Linked DNA regions of Homo sapiens: all the other regions are linked to region 1. Evidence: promoter capture Hi-C in 16 types of primary human blood cells and fetal thymus (Javierre and others, 2016). All regions are on one chromosome and are shown on one strand. Each heading gives the region's core, a stretch centred on a gene start or on the middle of the fragment in contact. The rest is flanking DNA. Distances are from core to core; before and after follow the strand shown.

What was found. The method cuts DNA at HindIII sites, captures the fragments that hold promoters and counts their contacts. A CHiCAGO score of 5 or more calls a contact.
Region 2: a fragment that was not itself captured here is called in contact with the fragment with the promoter of MTFR2 in region 1 in 16 of 17 cell types (fetal thymus, non-activated CD4 T cells, naive CD8 T cells and 13 more); the score reaches 27.2 in fetal thymus.
Region 3: the fragment with the promoter of PEX7 here is called in contact with the fragment with the promoter of MTFR2 in region 1 in 2 of 17 cell types (neutrophils and activated CD4 T cells); the score reaches 8.8 in neutrophils.
Region 4: a fragment that was not itself captured here is called in contact with the fragment with the promoter of MTFR2 in region 1 in 1 of 17 cell types (M2 macrophages); the score reaches 5.3 in M2 macrophages.
Region 5: a contact is called between a fragment that was not itself captured here and the fragment with the promoter of MTFR2 in region 1, in 1 of 17 cell types (neutrophils). The highest score is 5.2, in neutrophils.

Annotation. Positions count from the first base shown.
Region 1 is chr6:136,248,966-136,251,621 of GRCh38, forward strand. It overlaps MTFR2 (mitochondrial fission regulator 2), which reads right to left and starts at 1,346. Exons shown (of 8, transcript NM_001099286.3): 1 at 1,011-1,346; 2 at 72-188. The coding sequence starts at 134. RefSeq lists enhancers at 796-1,015, 1,666-1,815. The HindIII fragment of the contact is 2,013 bases long and covers 967-2,656 here.
Region 2 is chr6:135,498,946-135,501,601 of GRCh38, forward strand. The region is part of intron 2 of AHI1-DT (AHI1 divergent transcript); the gene reads left to right. Among named protein-coding and RNA genes, the nearest start is that of AHI1-DT, 2.5 kb to the left of the region's middle. The HindIII fragment of the contact is 6,529 bases long and covers 1-2,656 here.
Region 3 is chr6:136,821,342-136,823,997 of GRCh38, forward strand. It overlaps PEX7 (peroxisomal biogenesis factor 7), which reads left to right and starts at 1,251. Exons shown (of 10, transcript NM_000288.4): 1 at 1,251-1,454. The coding sequence starts at 1,325. RefSeq lists enhancers at 822-971, 855-1,587, 1,588-2,320, 1,702-1,861 and a silencer at 1,152-1,531. The HindIII fragment of the contact is 4,798 bases long and covers 1-2,656 here.
Region 4 is chr6:135,698,066-135,700,721 of GRCh38, forward strand. All of the region lies in intron 5 of AHI1-DT (AHI1 divergent transcript), which reads left to right. Among named protein-coding and RNA genes, the nearest start is that of LINC02524, 65 kb to the left of the region's middle. The HindIII fragment of the contact is 645 bases long and covers 1,046-1,690 here.
Region 5 is chr6:136,772,558-136,775,213 of GRCh38, forward strand. The region is part of intron 1 of MAP3K5 (mitogen-activated protein kinase kinase kinase 5); the gene reads right to left. Among named protein-coding and RNA genes, the nearest start is that of MAP3K5-AS2, 10 kb to the right of the region's middle. RefSeq lists a silencer at 494-788. The HindIII fragment of the contact is 2,590 bases long and covers 65-2,654 here.

The DNA.
Region 1 (2,656 bases), core at 96-2,595:
TATAAGTCATTTTCAAAATGAAACCCAAGAACAAATACAACAGATCCATTCCAATCCAAAACGACATTTACCTGTTCTACAGGAACGCCAAAATATTCCAGCATCTCTCTTAAGATATTCAGTATGAGAGACATTGATGAAGCAAATACAGAAGCCAATTCAAAGGAACATTATCAGTTTCTTGGTGCCTTTGGGGAAAATTTTAGAAAATGTTACTCTTGACAAATAAATGCCAAATTGTACTACATAACCTGGAAAAGTCCTCTTGATACACGACACAGTCAACTAATTTCTCCTAGCCAGCATTCTTTTAAGTCAGAGAAAAAGAAAGGAAGGGGAAGTCTGGGGGAAAGAGAGGGTTGTAAAGGAAATTTCAATTAATTGGTTAGATTACATTAAAACCTCGTAGGATGTTTGAGCCTAGTTAATAGAGACCAATCAACAAACTGGACATCTACTTAGTAGGCAAGGCTTCAAGTTACATGCCACAGCGAAGCTCGCTCTTTCCTGAAAGCTTTGGGCTGAGACTCTTAGCAGATGGGTGAGTTTAGCCAACCCTTGAAAGCAGGCAAGGGACGACTCAGTTTTTAAAAAAATAAACAGTAGCTCTTCTCACACACATATCCTCACGTGTCAAGGGTGGGGCCAGGTGAAGATAACTGAATCATGGGGGCAGCTTCCCCCATACTATGCTCGTGGTAGTGAATAAGTCTCATGAGATGTGATGGTTTTATCAACAGGAGTTCCCCTGCACAAGCCCTCTTGCCTGCCACCATGTAAAATGTGACTTTGCTACTCATTTGCCTTCAGCAATGATTGTGAGGCCTCCCCAGCCATGTGGAATGCCCATCCCTCCTCACTCTTTTAAAATGAGAAGCATGAATTCCAGATACGGGACGTGACTTGGTCACCCATCTAGTAACAGGCCGTGACCAGAGCCGGATCGCGTCCCTCGCTTTGGTCACAAGCTTCCTGGTGCTCTCCAAACACAGCGTGGTAGCCTTGCTCACCTTCCTCCGAAGCCGAGCCCCCGGGAATCACCAGAACATCAAGCGGAGGGCGTTAGGAATCCTCAATCAAATTCCAGACTGCGCCACTCCTTGTGCAGATCGCTCAGACGTCTACCCAGACCTCGACCCAGTTTCCACCCGCGCGCCTCGGCTTGCAGCCACAGGCGGTAACGATGCCCTCAGCGAGGAATAAGAGGTCAACCCGGTGCCCAGCCCTGGAGCCTCACGCTCAGCCAGGGTAATGTTATGGGAAGCGCGCCCCCGTCCTCCTGCGCCCAACCAACCCACCTGCTAGTCCCTAGGACCGGACTGCTACTTCCGCATGACAGGACTGCTACTTCCGCATCCCAGGACGAAATCAAACTCCGCGGGCCAGGACCCGTAACCAGCCTCATTGGGCAAAACTGAAGATCGCTGCTTCTGATTGGTCATTGCATGATGTCAGGCAATTCGGGAAGCGACTGCTTTTCCTTCTCAAGAGGCGGGTCTTCCGAGAGTCAGCCAATAGGAGCTGACGGGCAGGGCAGGTCGCGTTAGGACAGCGTCGCTCCCGCAGGGCAAGGTTTTAGGTACAAACTCGTGAGCTGGACTCGCAGTCCGGAGTTCGTACCCCACAGAACTCTTCGCAGGGAGTGTCTTACTCGCTACAGCCGGACCCTAAGCGCATCCGCCTTCCCAAGTTCATCTGACACAAAATCGCGATTTATTTTTTGGTCATTTCATTTGTTCAGCTAATATTAAAATACTTGTGGAACTGGCAGAAGCCAAGCACTACCCCCGAGGGTTTTGCAGCTTTGCAGTGGCTAGGATTCATTCTTTCGTTCACTAAATACACCTACGTATCCAGGCTACCGAATATTGGGCCGGACACTCTCCTGGCTTAGCCGAGGATGGCAAGTGATATGACAGGTGATATCCCAGTTTTCATTTCTGATTTGAGGTTATTGGCTTCATACGAAATAGCTTCCTCTTCTGAATTTCAGCAAGACGTGCACTGGAGTGATATAACAATTTAAGATGTGTGCCTGCTACTGACATAATTTGAAAATCTAAGTTTTGAACTAATTTATCTATGGTCAACATCACTTATTCATTCAACCAATAATAGATATCTACTACGTAGCAGACACCATTCTAAGCACGGAAAATACCTTAATGAGAGGGCAGGTCCTCGTCCTCCTGGAGCTTACAGGCCAGCGGGGCATCTCGTTCCATTCTAACCCTAATTTGCTTTTCTCTATAGCACTTATCATATATATTTAGTTACGCTTCCACTACCACCAAACAAAATTGTAGACTCCAGGAGAACAGGAAGTTGTTTTGATCCATGCTCTATCTTTCCCCAGTGCTTTAGAAGAGTGTCTGGTATATAATAGGCATTCAGTCTATTTGTTGAATAAAATACCTAAATGTGGAATGACAGAAAAGATGATAATGATTTGGGACTAAGCAACTAGCAAAACAATTGATAGCAATAATAGTGATATGCCCAGTAGAGCTGGATACGGCTGAGTGAGCGCAGAACAAGGATGATGATGGATCAGAAACCCTAGATGGAGTAATTTTCTCAAGTTCCTTGTCCTTCCCTTTGCCCTTGTGAATAAATCACGACTTTATAACCCCCTCCCTTTCCCACTCTCTTATCA
Region 2 (2,656 bases), core at 98-2,597, 750 kb before region 1:
GAAAGGCAATCTGTAAGAGAAAATGATTACTTTGCCTAGGATACAAGATTCTCCATCTCCCTGACTAGTTTCATCTCTCGTTAGCTTCTTGTTCCAATTTTATGCAATATTGAATCATGTGTACCATGCAGTTTTATGCAACATTGAATTATGTGTACCATGAAAAACAATCCATAGCCTTTCACGCCCCGTCCTTACTCATATTGTCCTCTCTTCCTGAAAATTCCTCCTTTTACACTCCTGCATCACAGCCAAATGTTGTCCATCCTTTGAATCTTAAGCAGGTTGACTGACTCCTTCAAACACTCCTACTCCCTATTAGACTTCGGATACTCATTCTATATATTAGACTTTGGATGCTCATTCTATAGTTTCATAGTTTACTTTGTATTTTCTCTATCCCCAGCATCTACCACAGTGTCTATGAAATAGTTGGCATTTCATGAACATTTGTTGAATGAATAATGGATAACATATATTGAGCTCCTTCTAGGAGGTATGCATTGTAGGTGTTTTATGTACTTTTCATCTGTCCTCACAACTGCATTTAAGTACCTGCTTTTCCAAAGGGAAGTTATAACTCTGACTGCTCATTCTTAGTAGGGTGTTAGTTTCAGAATACAATCCCCAGACTAGCGGATGTGTAACCCTGTTATCATCTCTTGCTTCTCCATTTACAGTAGCATGCAGAGGTGCAGTGGGGTGGGGGAGGTCAGGGAATATTTCATAGCAGAAGTGACATTTAAGTAAAGACCAAAATAATGTGTAGAGTTGTCCAGGTTAGGAAGGGTTTCCAGGTAGAAGAAGGTGGCGTATAGTGTTCACTACAAGAAAGTTTGGTATAATACAAGAACTGGAAGAAAAAAAAAAAAAGTTCAAGTTGGCTAACTAAAAGGTAGAGAATGAGACTAGGGGCTTTTGGAGGAGACAAAACAAGAGAGTTAAACAAGCTATGAAGAGACCCAGACAGTATTGGTCAGTGGAATACCACTATAGAATTTTATGGAGTGAAATTTTCAAATTTTAATATCATAAAGATAACTCTGGCTGCAGGGTGGAGAACAGACAGGAAGGAAGCAAATCTAGATCTGGGAATACCATTTAAGATGCCGTTGCTGTAAGCCATGTAAGAGACAAAGGTGGCATGGTCAAGGCTAAGAAAAATCAGAATGGAGAGAAATGGACCAATTTGAGAAATTTTTAGGAGGTAAAAATGTCAGGACTTAGTGATTGATTGGATGGAAGAGTGAATGATAAGAAATAATAAAAAACGATGACCAGCTGTTTTGCCTTCCCCTTGGCAAGTAAAGAGGTGGCAAGCATGAAAGGGGAGTGAGGAAATAAATATGTTGGGTCTAATGGGAGCCAGGTTTCTCACTGACAGAGAAGGACGTTACAAATTGAGAGAGGAAGAATTCCACAGTGACCTTTGTGGTGATGTTGAATTGGAATTGAATATGTCAGTGTCAACTCATAGTTTTCAATATATACATAAACATATGTAAAAATAAATATAGAGGAAAGTATGTCTGTATGTGTGTGCGTATCTATCTATTATGCTCTTCCTAGCTCTATCTGCTGAAAGGGTTTCAGAGTAATGGTATACTAGAAGCAATGAGCACATGTGCCTAGATCTTGGTTTCTGAACAGTATTATTCACTAAAAGTAACTGGGTCCCTTGGAGAAATGGTTGATTTTAGAACAGGAGCCTGGAAAATTCTTGTTGCACCAGAAGTTAAGGAAGTTAATACAGAATGAAGAAACATATCAAAAGGTCACAGAAGCCAGCTTGAAGGAGCCACCACTGGCCACATCTGGGTCAATCTGAGCACCAATATAATGTTAATGGATTATAGTCCGCTAAATAAAATAGGAATATTTGAGCCCATACTAAAATGAATAAATGATTTTTTTGAAAAATCAGGATAAAGAAAAGCTCTGCCTTACATAAAAATGCCAACTAAATGTAATGAATGTAGACAGTGTTATATGTAGAAACATCATTATTTGGCAGTCATGATAGTAACAGTTGATTCAGACTAGAATCATCAGTGTATGCTAAAACTAGAGGGTGAGAGTATTAAGAGACATATAATATTTATATAGTCTCAAAGTATCTCTCCAGCAAATACTTATTAATTACACAGAGAAAAATTAGAAAACTTGACAGTGTAGAAATCTGGCACTGGTGAGCGAAGTTACCATCAGCAGTCATGAGACAAATCAGCATCGTGTATGTCCTGGTTAGAGGCACTTAGAATACACTTCTGTGACATTCCTGCCAAAAATGTGTAATCCGAATCAATCGTGAGGAAAAAATCAGACAACCCAAATGTCCCAAATTGAGGGACATTCTACAAAATAATAGACCTGTACTCTTCAAAGATCAAGGTCATGAAAGACAAAGGAACAACTAAAGAACGTTTTTAGATTGAAGGAGAATTAAGATACATGACAATTAAGTGGAATACATGATTCTGAATTGAATCCTTTTGCTATAAGGATATTATTGGGACAACTAACAATTTGAATGGGGTCTCTGGATTAGATGGTAGTATTTTAACAATATTAATTTCCTGATTTTGATGACTATAGTGACATAGATATTTTTGGTTTTAGAAAATACATATTGAAGTATTAAAGGTGATGAGGCTTC
Region 3 (2,656 bases), core at 1-2,500, 570 kb after region 1:
TAAGACTCTTCATGATCTAGCCCCAGTAAAACACTCTACAGTCTCCCCACCCAATATTTTTTTCACCGTATCCCTTCCATCTGGCCAGGCTGAGTCCTGGCAGCCACGACCCCCTATGGATCATGCTGGTTTAAATCTCCTGGGTTGCTCATGTTATTCCTGCTCCTACAAAGATCTCCATCTTCTTGTCTACCTAAAGAAAACCTACTCATCTGTGTGCAATCACCATAAAGACTTATCTCTCTTCTGCAGCCTTTCCTGCAATTTCCATACCTCTGGCACGGACAATCACCTTTTAAAAATACCCCATATAAATTTATCATAGCCTCTACAGTATTTTGATTACACTTAACTAATTACATGACTTCTCTTTTAGTCTTCTTCTCTAATCTCTTGAGGCCATGGACCATATCCCATTATTTTGAATCCCAAATGCCTAGTACTGTTCTTGGTATATGGTTAAGATGATCATACGACTTGGTTTGTGCCTGTTGACCTGGCTTAATAATTACACCCTCTTTACTCTCAAAAGTATCTTGGTTTGGCAGATAAATTATATTTGGTCATTCTCCACATAGTATATGCCTGGCAATAAATGAATGAATGAGCACCAGCATCTGAGCACTTATTACCATACAATATATACATGTATAGTAATACTTTTTAAAAAAGTTGTATATGATGATGTGCTGCTTTTTTGCTTAGCTTCATTAGAACTGGCCAGCTCCTTTTTCTCACTTGCCAAGCATGGGGAGTTGGTTTGGAGTTGGTGTTTCATCTTTTCCAGTTACAGTGTGAAAGTAGCCCACCAGCCCACGCTCTTATTCCTAAAGACCGCAGTGACTCCACGGACTTAAGTTCTCATTGCTTCCAGTTTCCTTGGGCAACGCAGCACGCAATTTTGGACGCGCTGCGTGGTTTCAGAGTCGGCTGTAACTTTTCTCACTTTATAATCATCAGGAAAAGTTCCTGATGCCAGTCTTCCAAACGCTCAATGAAATAAAAACCAGATAGCACCGCAGAGGAGGCTGAGATGCAACGACAAAAGCTGTCGTAATTATTAATAATACCTAACCCTGGATCACTCCCCTGATAGATCTGTATCTTTGCAGCAGGCGCAATTCAGTTTGGATTCACCCAAAACAAAAATGGTCTCCGTCGGAGTCAACGCCCTTTCCTGTGCGGACCAATCAGAATCTCAAACACAGGGCACGGGGCCCACACTTCCGTCCGGTCTGCCTGGTCTCTCTAACCGCGCCAGTGTGCCTCCGACTCGGAACGGCTTCCGCGGCCGGGGCAGCGAGGGCCGGGGGCGGCGGGCGGGATGAGTGCGGTGTGCGGTGGAGCGGCGCGGATGCTGCGGACGCCGGGACGCCACGGCTACGCCGCCGAGTTCTCCCCGTACCTGCCGGGCCGCCTGGCCTGCGCCACCGCGCAGCACTACGGCATCGCGGGTGAGGCGGCGCCGCGCAGCTGGGGCCGGGGGGCGGAGGCGGAGGCGGGGGCCAGCCGGGCTCCAGTTCCTCGCGCTCGAGGGAAAGCCCCTCTGAGCGTAGACGGTTCCGCGGGTCCACGCCAGGGGGCAGAAGAGGCGCTGGTCGGCGCTTCTCCTTTCTTTGCCGAGTGCGAGGAGTTGGTCTGAAGCAGGAGTCGATCTTCCAGTTGTGTGCAAGTGCATATACGTGTAGCCTAGTAGCCCGTGTCCTTGTTCCTTGAGACCGCGCTGCCTCCGCCACGTGTCACACGCCCAGGCACACGTCCCCGTAGGGAGAGCCGGGGGAGCCTGCGCGGTCCCTTGGATCGGTCCGCTCGGCACAGCAGTACGGGGAAGACGGTCTGAGCCAGAACCGACCCAGGGCTCGCGAGTTGGCCCACAATTCCCAGTCTGCATTCGAGCACTGAGCTGCGACCTGCGGGCTGGCCTTCCTAAGGACGATGCTCCTGAATGGACGCCTGGAGTCCCACGGGTGACACCATGAAATATATCAAGTTCAGTTCTTACCTGTAGTTGTCTAACGAGGAATGCACACATTCGCAAGTAGGTGTTACAGACTCCAGTTAATTGTCTCCCGTCGCGCGCATTGGCTCAGCCTGTGGTTAAAGCTGCTCAGGAGGCTGAGGCGGGAGGATCGCTTGAGCCCGGGATGTTGAGGCTACAATGAGCTGAGATCACATCACTCTGCCCCAGCCCAGTGAGCTGAGATCACATCACTCCACTCCAGCCTGGGTGACAGACTGAGACCCCGTCTTAAAAAGAAAAAAGGCCAAGCGCCGTGCGGTGGCTCACGTCTGTAATCCCAGCACTTTGGGAGGCCGAGGTGGGCGGATCACTTGAGTTCGGGAGTTCCAGACCAGCCTGACCAACATGGAGAAACCCCATCTCTACTGAAAATACAAAATTAGCCGGGCGTGGTGGCGCATGCCTGTAATCCCAGCTACTCGGGAGGCTGAGGTAAGAGAATAGTTTGAACCCAGGAGGCAGAGGTTGCGGTGAGCCGAGATCGTGCCATTGCACTCCAGCCTGGGCAAGAAGAGCAAAACTCCGTCTCAAAAAAAAGAGTCCATCTAGTCCGTGGACTAGATGAAAAGGCGTAGGTTCATTCTCGCTTTTGCCTTAATTCATGTCCTAGCTATTATACGCACTGAAGCGAGATGC
Region 4 (2,656 bases), core at 118-2,617, 550 kb before region 1:
GTTGTCTTATATAATTGAGGAGGCAGAACTTGAAGTTTAGGAAGTCTGGTGTCTGTAAATGGTGAGGCAGAGATCTACAGAGTAGGGAGCTACACAGAAAACGGGCTTGAGAAATATACACAGTGGGTCCCATGAGTCTGAAAAATATCAAGACAATGCACAGCGTGAAATGCTACAAGGCTGGGCAAAGAACAACTGTGGAGTTATGAGAGGAGCGTATTTCCACAATACACACAGACTGCGGAATCATTTGCATTACCACCAGATAGCATGGAGAGCCCTCATTGAGCCTCTTTACTTGGAGAATGCAGTAAAGACTCCATCCAGAAGGACTACTCTGCAGTAGTGGGCTAACCCATTCCTAGAGGAAAGGTTTCTCTAGCCCTGCCCAAGCACAACTTAAAAGCAAGTCTCAAAACCATCTAACTAAATACTTATATTAGAAAAGAAGTAGTATCAACAATCAATGATCTAAATTTATTAGAGTCTAAATTCCCACCACAAGAGGCTGGAAAAGAGAAGAAAAGTTAAACCAAAGTAAGCAGAAGGAAGAGAATAAAAATGATAACAAAAATAGAAAACCCAAGACAAACTGAGAAAATTTATGAAACCCCAAGCTGGGTTTTTGACAACATCAGTAATATTGGTAAATATCTAGCAAAACTGATACAGGAAAAAAAGGGAAGACAAAAAATTATCAGTCAAGAATTAAAGAGGGGACATCATTAACTATCCTATAGATTTTACCCAGATAATAAGGGAATATTAGTAACAAATTTATAATGACAAAGTTGGATTGTTGGGAAAAGCATCCTGTGGTAGCAGTAAGTAGCCATCCAACAAAAGCCACTATAACAATAACAAAAACACATCATTCATTAACCAATTTTATGTGGCAGGTCCTGGTTAAAGACAGTGGAAAGAAACCAAAACCAACTAAAGAAGAAAAGCAAGGATTATTTATTCAGTGTTTGCTATAGCAAGGGGAGTCTGCCACTGTCACTTGTGTTTTGGGAGAGAATCAAAGGCAAGCAGAGGAGTGGGAAGCTTCATAGTGAGAAATAAAGGGAAGGCTTCAATCATACCCTGACTGGAGGCTGTTGTCTTGGGGAAGTTGGAGGTAGGCTAACCAGAAGCAGAACATCCTCTGTGATTGCTTAGGGGTGCATATTTGGCTTTCTCTGGTTTGTCCTAAGTTTGGAGTGGGGACAGATATTGGGAAAGCTGTCAGTTATGAATCAAGTCCTGGCCATTTTGAGCCGATTGTTACAGAAGTTTTTGCTTAGCTTCCTATATTGTTTCTACAGATAGCAGCCTGACTTATAGCAGGCTGGCTTCCTGGACTATTTATTGAAGTTAACAGATTGGCTTTCTGGACAAGATTCTGGAGGTTGATGGTCAAAGTTCTATTTTTATACATGGATTAGTTCATGTCAGTTTGTATATTCAGTCCCTCAGTAATAAATGATATAGTGATACCCAATTCATTCTGAAAGCATAATGAAAAGAGTGACCCAGTCTTCCTGGGAGCATCCGAGAAGCCTTTACAGTGAAGCTAATATTTGAAGTTGCCTTAAATTCTGAGGCAAAAAGAAGATGAGAAGAAATTGCTACCAGAGATGACCACATTAAAAAAAATAATAAGCAGGTGGGTGGGTGGTGTGTTTGAAGATTAGTGACCTTTTAAAGAAGCTTGAACATAGGCGGGTGGAGGCAGACAGCCAGGAAAGAAAGGTGGAACCAAAATGTAATGGACTTTGAGTGTTGTTCTAAGATGTAATCTTATGGGCTCCAAGGGAGACAGGATGCTTTAAAGCCAATAGTTATAATATTAGACTTGTATTTTAGGAACATGATCCTTTTGATAGTGGAAAATATGCATGGGGTGGGTCAGGAAACTGGAAACTTGCACACAAGCTAGGATGGTATTTTACCAATTGGAGGAAGTGGTGGGAAAGGCCTTGATTTGGGCAGGGACGGTGGGGATACAGCAAAGGGCAGATAGAACAACCAGGGCAACATTTTGGACATGCAGTGCGTGCTCCGTAAATATCTGTTATATTTTTAAGTGAATAAATGGGACATTTAGGAAGTGGAATGGGTTAGGTTTGGTGACTGATTGGATATTATAAGGACAGGAAATAGTCAAGAACTACTAAAGTTTTTAGCTTCAGTGACTGATTGTATAGCAATGCTATCAGCCAAAGTGTGAAAAATAGGGGTGTGGCAGTTTATGAGTGAGGATGCCAAGTTTCATTTGGGGCATGTCTTTAGGGCTTATAAAATTGGAATCAGGGTTTGGGGGGGTCACTGATGGCACATAGGTAATAGCTGGAATTATGCAAAGAGGTGGGATTGGTCAGAAAGACTTTCCAAAGCTAGGGGAGAGGGTCCAGTCCTTGAATGCACTGATTCTCACTTTTTAAAATTATTTATTTATTTTTTTTGAGCCAGAGTCTCACCCTGTTGCCCAGGCTGGAGTGTAGTGGTATGATTTCGGCTCACTGCAACCTCTGCCTCCCAGGTTCAAGCAATTCTCATGCCTCAGCCTCCTGAGTAGATGGGACTATGGGCACATGCCCAACTAATTTTTGTATTTTTAGTAGAGATGGGGTTTGGCCCTGTTGGACAGGTTGGTCTCGAATTCCTGACCTCA
Region 5 (2,656 bases), core at 110-2,609, 520 kb after region 1:
GGTTAATCCAGGGTTTACTTCAGTAATCTACTGACAGCAGCCCTCCACTGAGGAGGGGTTAGGAAGCTTAAGATGAAGAAAACCTAAAAATCAAGCCGAGTTTTGAAAAAATGTTAACTGTTTCCACTGTAAGTTTACAAAGTAAGGTGGCAAACTGAGCAAAATAAATCTCATTTTTAAAAATGAATCATGTTCACTGTTATGCAGCCAGCATTATGAGCAATTAAGTGTTTCAAGTGGTTGAGAAAACAAGAAAGGCGTTTCAGGTTCCAGTTCCTATTCTTGAGCTTTCAAAAGCCTGTGAAATCTGGCCATTGGGGACAGATGCATGGAAGACTTAACTGGCCTGAGAGATGGGCACTTTCCCTTCCTGAAGAAGTCCTACACCTCTGTAAATTGGGTTCAAGCCAGTCAAGAATTCTCAACTTAAGCTGTATCAGTGTGAATTCAAATTTCTCTAAGTTAAGAGATTCTCGGAAGGAAAAACAACTCTATTTTCAGTCAATTAAAATTAGCAAGAAAACAAGTACATTTACAAAGGGTCATGCTCCAGAAGTTATTCTCATAAGAAAGTGGTTGGGAATTTGCCTTCCACATTCCCATGGAAACCCTGTTAAATAACACCTGAGCCCACAAAGGCCTACTGACCTCATCCCATCTGAGGCATGAATACCAGCAGCCAGGCCACGTGCCTTACCTTGGGAGTAGCCTGCACCGCTTCCAGAGACTGCCTTCTCTCTGCTTTCCTCGTGAACACATTTCTTTAAATAACACTCCCTGTTACATGCCTTCTGTTGTTCTCCAGAAATCAGTCAAGTCACCGTACCTGACATCTACCACCACCTGCTTTCCTGAAACTGCTCTGGCAAAGTTATCAGGGGTTTTCTGATCTCCAAGTCCAGTTATTTCTCTGAAACATTCAACTTCACTGACCTTCGGACAAGCCCTCTTTGCATTGCTTTTAGAGCTAATCCCTTCTCTCTCTCCCTCTCTGAACTTTCTCTCATCTGTTGTGCCATCTTACCATCTTCCCTTTCTCACTAGATGATGCCTTCCTTTGCCCATTTTTTGTTGTTGTTGTTGTTGGTTGGTTCGTTGGTTGTTTTCTGAGACAGAGTCTGGCTGTTTCACCCAGGCTGGAGTGCAGTGGTACGATCTCAGCTCACTGCAGCCTCTGCCTCCTGGGTTCAAGTGATTCTCATGCCTAAGCCTCCCAAGTAACTGGGACCACAGGCGGGTGCCACCACACCCAGCTAATTTTTCTATTTTTAGTAAAGATGGGGTTTCTCCACGTTGGCCAGGCTGGTCTCAAACACCTGGTCTCAAACATCAGGTGATCTGCCTGCCTCAGCCTCCCAAAGTGCTGGGATTACATTACAGGCATGAGTCACCATGCCCCGCCGTCCATCTTTAAATGCCAGTGTTTCCTTAGTTCTATCATAGGCCTTCTCTTTATCCTACCCCTTCCTTATGGAGAGACTCATTTTTTCCATGATTTATTATAAAATGCCTGGCACATGTTAAGTGCTCAATAAATGTTAGCTTTCATCATTATCCTTCAAAACCCAGTTCAAATGTCACCTCCTGTCCAATGTCTTAGCCAACCTCCTCCACACTTCCTTCTCCTCCTGAAGAATCCTCCATGATTTGTGCTCTCAAAGAACCTTACATAAACCTCTAGTATAACAATTAGCACCAGCCTAGGCAACATGGCAAAACCCCATCTCTACAAAAAAAGAATTAAAAAATTAGCCAGCATGGTGGCACACACCTGTGATCCCAGCTACTCAGAAGGCTGAAGTGGGAGGATCGCCTGAGCCCAAGGAGGTTACGGCTGCAGTGAGCTGTGATCGCACCACTGCACTCCAGCCTGGGTGACAGAGTGACTCAGTCTCAAATTTTTTAAAAAACAACAACAACAAACAATTAGCACAATATATATAATACGTTCATAGGCTGGTCTCCCTTACCAGACTGTGAGCCGCTCCAGGAAAGGGATGACATCATTGAATTGTATTCTACAAACATCATTAAGTGTCATCTACAGGTCACACACTGATACAGAAGACCTGGGGCATGTCAAGAACCATAAAATGTGATCTTTGTCATTAACTCACACTTAAGCAGAAAAAGCAGACATCAAAACCAATAACTAAAACACCACTGGGGGGAAAGTGTGATATTCATTCAATCAATCAATCTGTATCAAGTGCCAAGCACTCCATTAGGTACTAGAGGTGCAGGGTTAACAAGACAGAAAAAGAGACATGGAACTATATTCTAATGATTCTTTAAAAAACCAGAAACTGCTCCTTGTTTGTCAGATGTTTCTAACAAAAGGTTTTTCATTATTGTGTAAATTGGACTTGACTTTTTCAGTTGTTCCTTCTTAGTCATATCACGTATGATGCAAGACCTATGGAGCAACAGCTTTCTTTATATCTCCCAAAGAATCAAGCATGATTTGAATACTGAATCCTTAAAGCAAATCAAAATTTATTTAACAGCCTTCAGAGGTCATTTCAAGAGGGAATAGATAGGGCTGCTAACAGAAATATGAATTAAAAAAAAATTCAGATCTTAGAGAATAAAAATAGAAGGATAAATAGTTCCAAGATTATTCATACCTTAAAAGAAAAAGAATGCTAAGGTCAAG